Regions from separate parts of the Homo sapiens genome. Here region 2 is linked to region 1. The links are contacts of gene promoters, found by promoter capture Hi-C in human tissues and cell types (Jung and others, 2019). All regions are on one chromosome and are shown on one strand. Each heading gives the region's core, a stretch centred on a gene start or on the middle of the fragment in contact. The rest is flanking DNA. Distances are from core to core; before and after follow the strand shown.

What was found. Contacts are between HindIII fragments. The study calls those that stand out against the background at their distance.
Region 2: the fragment with the promoter of WDR18 here is called in contact with the fragment with the promoter of MISP in region 1 in 8 of the 25 tissues and cell types used here (H1 embryonic stem cells, aorta, dorsolateral prefrontal cortex and 5 more).

Annotation. Positions count from the first base shown.
Region 1 is chr19:749,451-754,218 of GRCh38, reverse strand. It overlaps MISP (mitotic spindle positioning), which reads right to left and starts at 3,107. Exons shown (of 5, transcript NM_173481.4): 1 at 3,048-3,107. The HindIII fragment of the contact is 28,409 bases long and covers 1-4,768 here.
Region 2 is chr19:982,977-987,183 of GRCh38, reverse strand. WDR18 (WD repeat domain 18) reads right to left here and starts at 2,839. Exons shown (of 10, transcript NM_024100.4): 1 at 2,621-2,839; 2 at 1,209-1,319. The coding sequence starts at 2,830. RefSeq lists enhancers at 2,520-2,699, 2,730-2,879, 2,304-3,245 and silencers at 2,930-3,019, 4,184-4,207. The HindIII fragment of the contact is 34,067 bases long and covers 1-4,207 here.

The sequences.
Region 1 (4,768 bases), core at 1,858-4,357:
TGTTGGGATTACAGGCGTGAGCCACCGCGCCCAGCCAGGACACCCGGCTAATTTTTGTATTGTTAGTAGAGACGGGTTTCACCATGTTGGCCAGGCTGGTCTTGAACTCCTGACTTCAGGTGATCCGCCTGCCTCGGCCTCCCAAAGTGCAGGGATTACAGGCGTGAGCCACCGTGTCCAGCAGACATCATCTTTCATAGTTGAGGAAAGGAAGCCTCACCTGAAGACACAGGGATCTCAAAAGCTTGAGCTCCTGACTCCTAAAAAAAGCACTGTCGGCTGGGCACAGGGGCTCAGGCCTGTAATCCCAGCTACTTGGGAGGCTGAGGTGGGAGAATCACTTGAACCTGTGAGGTGGAGGTTGCGGTGAGCTGAGATTGTGCCATTGCACTCCAGCCTGGGTGACAGAGAAAGACCCTGTCTCAAAAGAAAAACAAACCCCCACAAAGCAGGACTGTCGCTCCCGGGCCACCAAGGCTATTATTTAGATCTGCTGCCTTTACACCAACCAGCAGCATTTTTTTTTGTTTTTAAACAGACAGGGTCGGCCAGGCACAGTGGCTCACACCTGTAATCCCAGCACTTTGGCGGATCACGAGGTCAGGAGATCGAGACCATCCTGGCTAAAATGGTGAAACCCCATCTCTACTAAAAATACAAAAAAAATTAACCGGGTGTGCTGGCGGGCGCCTGTAGTCCCAGCTACTCAGGAGGCTGAGGCAGGAGAATGCTGTGAACCCGGGAGGTGGAGCTTGCAGGGAGCTGAGATCGCACCATTGCACTCCAGCCTGGTGACAGAGCTAGACTCCGCCTCAAAAAAAAAAAAAAAGAAAAAAAGAAAAAAAAAGAAAAACTTAGCCCCTCTCTGAACTGGAAAGTGGCATCAAACAGCATAAAGTGGAGAGACCGTGGGGAGCCGTGTTGAAACTACACGCAATGTGTCATGCAATCTTCCGCGCGTATCAAATGTCAGAAACTAAAATAGGGGAAACATTGAAAACCAGGCGGCATTGGTGAATAAATCCCACACAAACAGCTGAGCTTCCTCCCAAAGCGTGACGCACAGATGGCTCCCCTGACCCGAGGCCTCCTCCTCCGTGGACGCCGCCTGCCCAGCTCACGGAAGGCCTTGCCTTCTCCCACCCGAAACCGTCAGCCCAGGCCTCGCTCTCGCCTGCTGTGGCCACAGGTCAGCACCCTTCCTGCAGCCCAGAGTCTGGTATACAGCAGGCGCCTAATAAATACTGGCTGGGCAAACACCACTCATCCCAGCTGCTCAGACGTGGGGGTCGGGCTCATTGCGGAATGCAGACCGGCTCCACCGTGCCTTCTGGCCCTGAAGGGCTGGGCAGGTCCACGCCCTGCACCCTGGAGCTCCCCGGGGAGGGCGGGTGTAGGAATGTTTGCCCAGTGAGTGGACAGACGTTTACACAGCGGGATTTATAACCCACATCAGACGTCAACTCCGGGAGAAAGGGAGCTGTCCGCCCAGCCTCGAGCAGGTGCCGGGTCTCCCAGTGGGGTCGGGGTTGGGTGGGGATGAAGGCACGCATCCTCCTCTGCTCATTCCTCCCCAGTGATTCACTGAAGCCAGCGGGTGGGGCCTGGGGTCCAGCTCTTGGGTTCAAGGCCACTGGGCCCCCTCCCCTGCTGCCTGTGCCTCAGTGCCCACCCCCGCCCCCCGCTTTTTTTTTTGAGATAGAGTCTCCCTCTGTCGCCCAGGCTGGAGTGCAGTGGCGCGATCTCCATTCACTGCAACCTCTGCCTCCCGGATTCACACCATTCTCCTGCCTCAGCCTCCCAAGTAGCTGGGACTACAGGCGCCCGCCACCACGCCCGGCTAAGTTTTGTATTTTTAGTAGAGATGGGGTTTCACTGTGTCGGCCAAAAAAACCCCTGGATCCACGGCGGCTCTCATGGCCGGCATTCTTGGGCAGCGGCGCTGCCCTCGGGGGAAGAGCCCCAGGACGGAAGATGGCCCCTGCAAGGCCCGGCGGTGGCTAAGGACCTCGGCGTCCTGAGACTCTTCCTGCAACACCTTGGAACCGTTTTCGACTCCGGTTTTCGAGAGAGGGAGCTGGGACCCAGAGAGGAGAACCTGCTCATCTGAGGTCACACAGCGATGACAGAGCAAGTGTCTGAAGCCAGTTTTCAGACTTTGCTCCAAATCACCCCCTCCTACAGGAAGCCCCCTGGGTTGCTCCTCCCAGCCTCACCCTGAACTCTGTTGATACCAGAATGAAACTGGGTTTATGGACCCTGGTGCCACACCTCCTTCCTCATCAGCCAGTTGGCTCTATGTGAGGGGCAAAGGTTCCCTTGTGGGGCCGAGACTCAGACAAGGAGGCCATGCAGAAGGGAGGGCCCCGTTCCTTTTTCCCATCCCTCAGGGTTGCAGTCACCCTTGAGTCATCTCAGCTCCTTGGGCTCCTGGGCGGAGCTCCACCGGCAGACGCTGGGCCGAGTCCCTGCTGGCTGCCCGGGATCCCAGGCTACCACCTCACCCCCACCCGAGGACCCAGGCCAAGTCCCCAGCCCCGGCCTGAGACTCCTTCCGCCTGTACTCAGCCACCCCTCCTCCGTGTCCCCAAACCAGCCCCCAGCCCCACGGGGGTGTTTACTGCCCAGAGCCTCCCAGTCAGGGGCCTGGTGGGACGGATAAGCATCTCTCCAGAAGCCTCTGGAATTCCCAGAACCATGGAGGGGCCCCTCTGGCCTCTGACCATGGGGGTGCCAACCCGGCCCCTCCCTTGGAGGGCTCTGGGATTTGGGGTTCAAAAGCCCCAGCAGAGTTCAGGGACAAGGGCCTCTCTGCTCTCCCAGTGGGTGCCCTTGAGGCCCCAGAGTACCTAGCGGGGGCAGAGGGAAAGGTGCCTCAGGGAGGCTCCGAGGGTGACGGGGTGGGGCAGGGGGCCTCCCTGGATCCCAAGTGCCGCCAGGCAAGCAGACCCCGCCCACAGACACATGACGCTCCCACGCCAAATGTGGATCCAACCGCCCCACACAGGATCCCCGCCCGGCCCGGCCCGGGGCGCCCCCAGCCTCACCTGCCGGCTCCCGGCTCCACAGTCTGCAGCCTCCACTCTGACTCCTCGATGGGCACAGAGGCCTCCCAGCTCCGCCCTGCCCGCCAGGTTGCCAGGGAACAGAGGCCCCACCCAGGGGAGGCAGGTGTGCCCCCTCCCCCCAGCCCCACCTGGGATCAGGAAACAAAGTCCAGAGGAGGAGGAGGGAGAAAGAGGATACCAGGCTGGGCAAGGGCGGGCACCGTGCCCGCTGCCGGCTGCCCCTCCACCCCCAGGGCCTCCAGGTGGCCCCGAGGAGCCAGAACTCAGCCGAAACCTCCCTTGGCTGCCTGGCCCTCCCACCGCCTCTCAGCACCGCTCAGAGAGGGTCAGCAGGTGTCCAGGGCCACACAGCAGCTCAGCGTGCACAGTGGCCTGTGTCTCCTGGGGGGCCGGAGGGGCTGAGTCCCAATCCCGTCCGTGCCTTCTGGCCCAGCCCACCCCTTGGGGCAACTCCCCTAGATGGCCCCCTTCTTGCATAAACCAGGTTTGGCAGACTCGGGGGGGTTTGGTGTGGCCTGGGTTCTGATCCCACCTGACCTCTCTTAGCCCTGTTTTCTCCTCCGGGACGTGGGGGAACATCACGCCCGGGCTCCCTCAGGGCTGCTGGGAGGAATTCCCTAGGCCCCATCCACATAAAAACCCATACGAGGGGGCCGGACTTGGTGGCTCACACCTGTAATCCCAGCACTTTGGGAGGCCGAGGCGGGCGGATCACTTGAGGCCAGGAGTTCGAGACCAGCCTGGCCAACATGGCGAAACCCCGTCTCTACTAAAAATACAAAATTTAGCGGGGTATGGTGGCACGCTATTATAATCCCAGCTACTTGGGAGGCTGAGGCAGAAGAATCACTTGAACCCAGGAGTTGGAGGTTGCAGTGAGCCGAGATCACACCACTGCACTCCAGCCTGGGCGACAAGAGCAAAACTCCAACTCAAAAAAAAAAAAAAAAAAAAAAAAAAAAGAACCGCACGAGGCCGTCAAAAGACCCAGGCCACCCCGAGAGATGGGGACGCAGAGGCCCTCAGGCGCCCATGGTCCTCCTGGATTCTTAGTCAAGGTGCAGAGGCCTTGCTGGGACTGTGGGGAGCCCAGCATCTGTGGGGAAGTCGGGCCACTGGGCCTAGCGCCGTCTATGAGGGCAGGGAACACAGCTGAGGGGGCAGGGACTTCAGTTCCCCAGGCTGGGGCTCTGTCCTGACCTACGCCAGAGGGGCTGCTTGTGGAGCCCCTCTGAACCTCAGTCTCTTCTTCGAGTAAAAAGGCCCCCAGCTACGAATCCAGCAGGGCTGCTCAGGAGGGGGGTGCTTTTTTTGTGTTTTTTTTTTGAGACGGAGTCTCGCTCTTGTCACCCAGGCTGGAGTGCAGTGGCACGATCTCGGCTCACGGCAACCTCCCCTGTTCAAGCAATTCTCCTGCCTCAGCTTCCCTAGTAGCTGGGATTACTGGCATGAGCCACCACGCCCAGCTATTTTTGTATTTTTAGTAGAGACAGGGTTTTGCCACGTTAGCCAGGCTGGTCTCGAACTCCTGACCTCAGGTGATGCCCCCGCCTCAGCCTCCCAAAGTGCTGGGATTACAGGCGCGAGCCACGGCGCCTGGCCAAGATGGGGGTGTTTAAGGACAAATCTGGATAAAGGGCCCCCAAAGGACAGCGTGGCACCTAACGCTGCTGGGTGTGTGAAAGCTCAGGGTGCGCGGC
Region 2 (4,207 bases), core at 1,590-4,089, 230 kb before region 1:
TTTTGCAGACATGGGTTTTCACCATGTTACCCAGGCTAGTCTTGAACTCCTGGCCTCAAGTGATCTGCCCGTCTCAGCCTCCCAAAGTGCTGGGATTCCAGGCATGAGCCGCCATGCCCATCCCCTGGTGGCTTTTTTATCTCTCCGAGAATGCTCATGCCCACCCAGCCCTCTCAGTTCTCTGAGCAGCCCACTGAGGGAAGCAAGGACAAGGTCAGGAAGGGCAGAAACATGGTTACCTTTGGGTCTTCTGGCCCCAGATCTTGTACTGTCTGCCCTGCTCTATGTGGGGTTGAGGGCAGGTCTCCCCCGAAATATAATGGACCATTTGTGACAACACAGCCGGTGATCTAACGCCACAGCTACGGTATGGGCCAAACTCCAAGAGGCCTGACTTTGTGAATGAAGTCTCCCTGGCACATCTCTGTGCCCACTCACTCACACATCATCCAGGGCTGCTTCCCCTCACCAGGGCAGAGCTGAGAAGCTGGCCTAAATGCAAAGCCTGAACAGTTCACTCTGTCTCGCAGTGAGAGCATGGCAGGATCCGGGCTGTGAGTGTGTCTAGGAGTTGCTGTCACCTGGTTGGTCCAGCGGTAAGAAAAAGGAGGCACTGGCCGGGCGCGGTGGCTCACGCCTGTAATCCCACTACTCTGGGGGGCCGAGGCGGGTGGATCACCTGAGGTCAGGAGTTGGAGACCAGCCTGACCAACATTGTGAAGCCCTTCTCTACTAAATACAAACAAATTAGCCAGGTGTGGTGGTGGGCGCCTGGAATCCCAGCTACTCAGGAGACTGAGACAGGAGGATTGCTTGAACCTGGGAGGCAGAGGTTGCATTGACTACCGGCATGAGCCACTGCGCCCGGCCGCCCTTTATAACTTTCAAGTCACAAGTGCCAGGCGCTGCCGCCTGCGTGGAAGAGATGCCCGCTAGCCCTGGAAGATGCTGCGGTGTGTGAGTGCCGGGGACTGGGCTGCACCGGGCTCTATCCAAGCACTCAAGGCAGGATTAGGGCTGGTCTGGGATTCGCAAGTCTCGAGGGGACCTGGAGAAAGGAGGCAGCAGGGTGAAGCTTAGGCTATAACCCCTGAGCAGTCACCCATCCCAGGGCCCCAGGCCGCATGGTTGTTCCCTGGTGCCCTGCAGGCAAAGCTCAGATGGGCTGAGATGTCCTGTGGGAAACGCTCACGCTTTGCTCCTCTTACCTCCCACAGGTGGATGCTTTCTGCAACTCCTGCCAGGACGTAGAGACCATTGGGTGATGCAGTCAGACAGGTGACAGGCCCGGGGCACATGATCTTCTGCTGGAGCTGGTCCTAAGGATGCACAGTCAGCCTCGTGAGCCCCATGCAGGACACGGGAGCTACTACAGCAGTGGAGGGCGAGGGGAGGGGACGCCTGGGCAATGGCTAAGTCAGAGAACCAGGAAGAGGAGTCGGGAGCAGGGTGGTTTGAGCAAATGCATGGTCCAGCAAGGAAGTGTTCGCCCCTGCAAGAGGCTTCGAGGCTGGAGGTGGTAGATGTGAGGTTGGTGCTTCCTCTGAGGGTCAGAGGGGCCCTGGGTGGGAGGAGTACAGGAACAGAACAAAGAGGATCCAGAAGGACACTGGGGCCCAAGAGCCCAGTAGGCTTGTGCCCCAATCCTTCTATCCATAATGTCCAACCTAAGACCCCAAGCCTCAGCTTCCTCCTCTCTAAAATGGGAAAACTCAGCCGGGCGTGGTGGCTCACGGCTGTAATCCCAGCACTTTGGGAGGCTGAGGTGGGCAGATCACTTGAGGTCAGGAGTTCGAGACCAGCCTGGCCAACATGGTGAAACCCTGCCTCTACAAAAAATACAAATGTGGGCCGGGTGTGGTGGTTGGTGCGGGCCTGTAGTTGCAGCTACTCAGGAGGCTGAGGCCCGAGAATCGCTTGAACCCTAGAGGCAGAGGCTGCAGTGAGCCGAGATCGCACCACTGCACTCCAGCCTCAGCGACAGAGTGAGACCCTGTCTCAAAACTAAAATAAAATGGGAGAAATTTATGAGTTGTGTGTAGACTCCATCAGGCAATGCTGGAGCACAGAGCCAGTCCCAAGAGATCTCAGCGGGCACACGGGGGAAGCGAGTAGCTTCAGGGACTGGCTGCATTTGGGCTTGGGAGTAGAGGGGAAACTGTGGGCGACGGTGAGTATCTGTTGCTTTATTGGAGGAATAAACATGAGTTTCCTGCGCCACCCCTTCATGGGAGACTCCCCCAGACCTTGGTCCTTCTCCCTTTTCCTCCAGAACCACAACATCCACAGAGCTCATAGGCCCCTTTTAATCAAATTTCGCGCTCCAAGAACTCGTGCATGCGCAATTGCCCCAAGGGACCCCCCGGAGCGTCTCCCATTTTCCCCCACTGCCCCCATAGCAGCTCAGGCCTGAGCCCCGCGCGTGCGCAGAGCGGCCTAACAGGTCGCACGTATCTCCCCAAAGCCCCCAGACCCGCGCATGCGCAGAGCGCCCGAACGGAGACCACCTCCCCTCCCCACGCCAATTCCGACTAAGGGTGCACGCGGCCCCCACCAACCCATCCCCCGACTTCAGCCTCGGGCGCCCCATGACCCCAGCAGCGAGACCGCACCGCCGCACCTTCCGCTGGAGCTCCCAGGCGCTGATGTAATTCTTGCCCAGCTGCGCCGCCAGCAGATACTCGCCATTGAGCAGCGCCAGGCCGCGGGGTCCCGCCTGGCCGCCGCGGTAGGTGAGCAGGTTGGCGCCCGAGTGAAGTTCCCACACGATGCAGCTCCACATCGGGGCCGCCGAGTCCGTACACACGGCCACCTCCATGGGCGCCGCCATCTTGCCTTCCCCACCGCCCCGGACGTGCGTCATCATGAGCGAGACGCGGACGACTGCCCCACGCGGGCCAGAGCGGCGGCCCCGCGGCCCCAGCGGGTGGCCGACCCGCGCATGCGCCCGTGCCTCGGAGAGAGGGGCTTTCTTGTGAAGTGGGATTTCCCGCTTACCTGAGACTCGAGGGTCGCGCGGCCTGCTTAGAGATCTGGGGAGGCGACTTCTTCCAAGGCCCAGGGTCTCCGGCGATCAGTTAGTAGCTCTAGAGCCGGGGTACCTGACTTGGCCTTTTCCTCCTGGGCATTTTTGGCCAAGTGACTCAAGCTCTTGGATTCATTTATTTTTAAATGTTCAAATAATAAAGTTCCGACGTCACAGGCCTAAATGACACATTGCGCCTAAAAGAGAGAGCGCACACCCAGCAACATGGCTAGTTGGCGATGAATACATTGGAATTCACTGCTTCCTTATTTATTTAGTTTTGTAGAGCCAGGGTCTCACTGTCCTGCCCAGGCTGGCCTCGAACTCCTGAGCTCAAGTGATCCTCCCAGCTCGGCCTGCCAAAGTGCTGGGATTACAGGCGTGAGCCACCGCGCCCGGCCCAGTGTTTCCTTATTGGTCGACATCTGCCTCCCCCTTGACCCCTCTTTAGGGGCCTCAACATCTAAATTATTAGTCGGATAGCTTGGTGTAGGTCAAACAAGTCGCCAGTTCTGTCCGAGCCAAGCAGGGTCTAACTTCATGTCACGGCTGCCCGTCACGGACCATGTCTGAAAACGGCATTCAAAAAAAAAAAAAGGCCGGGCGCTTTGGCTCAGGCCTGTAATCCCAGCACTTTGGGAGGCCGAGGTGGGTGGATTACCTGAGATCAGGAGTTCGAGACTACCCTGGCCAACATGGCGAAACCCCGTCTTTACAAAAAGTACAAAAAGCCGGGCGTGGTGGGAGGCTGAGGCAGGAGAATCGCTTGAACCCGGGAGGCGGAGGTCTCAGTGAGCCGAGATCCCAGGCACTCCAGCCTGGGCGAATGAGACTCTGTCTCAAAGAAAAACATATATCTATTATTTATTTATACTAAATATATATCTAGTAGAGATGGGGGGTCTCACTGTGTTGCTCAGGCTGGTCTCCAACACCTGGGCTTAGGCCTTGGCCTCTTAAACCGCTGGGATTACAGGCTTCAGCCACAACGTCCGGCCTAAAAACAGTATGATTTAAAATGTGCAATTAGTTGCCAACCCCTTAAAAAGGGATAAAAAGGGAGCATTCATTTAAAAGTCGGGATTTCCGCCCGGGGGTTGCAGCTGACCTGGGTCGTGTGCCCTCGAGCAGCAAGAGGCAGGGGCTGGAGGCTGCATGCGGGGTGCGGTCCCCGGAGGCGGT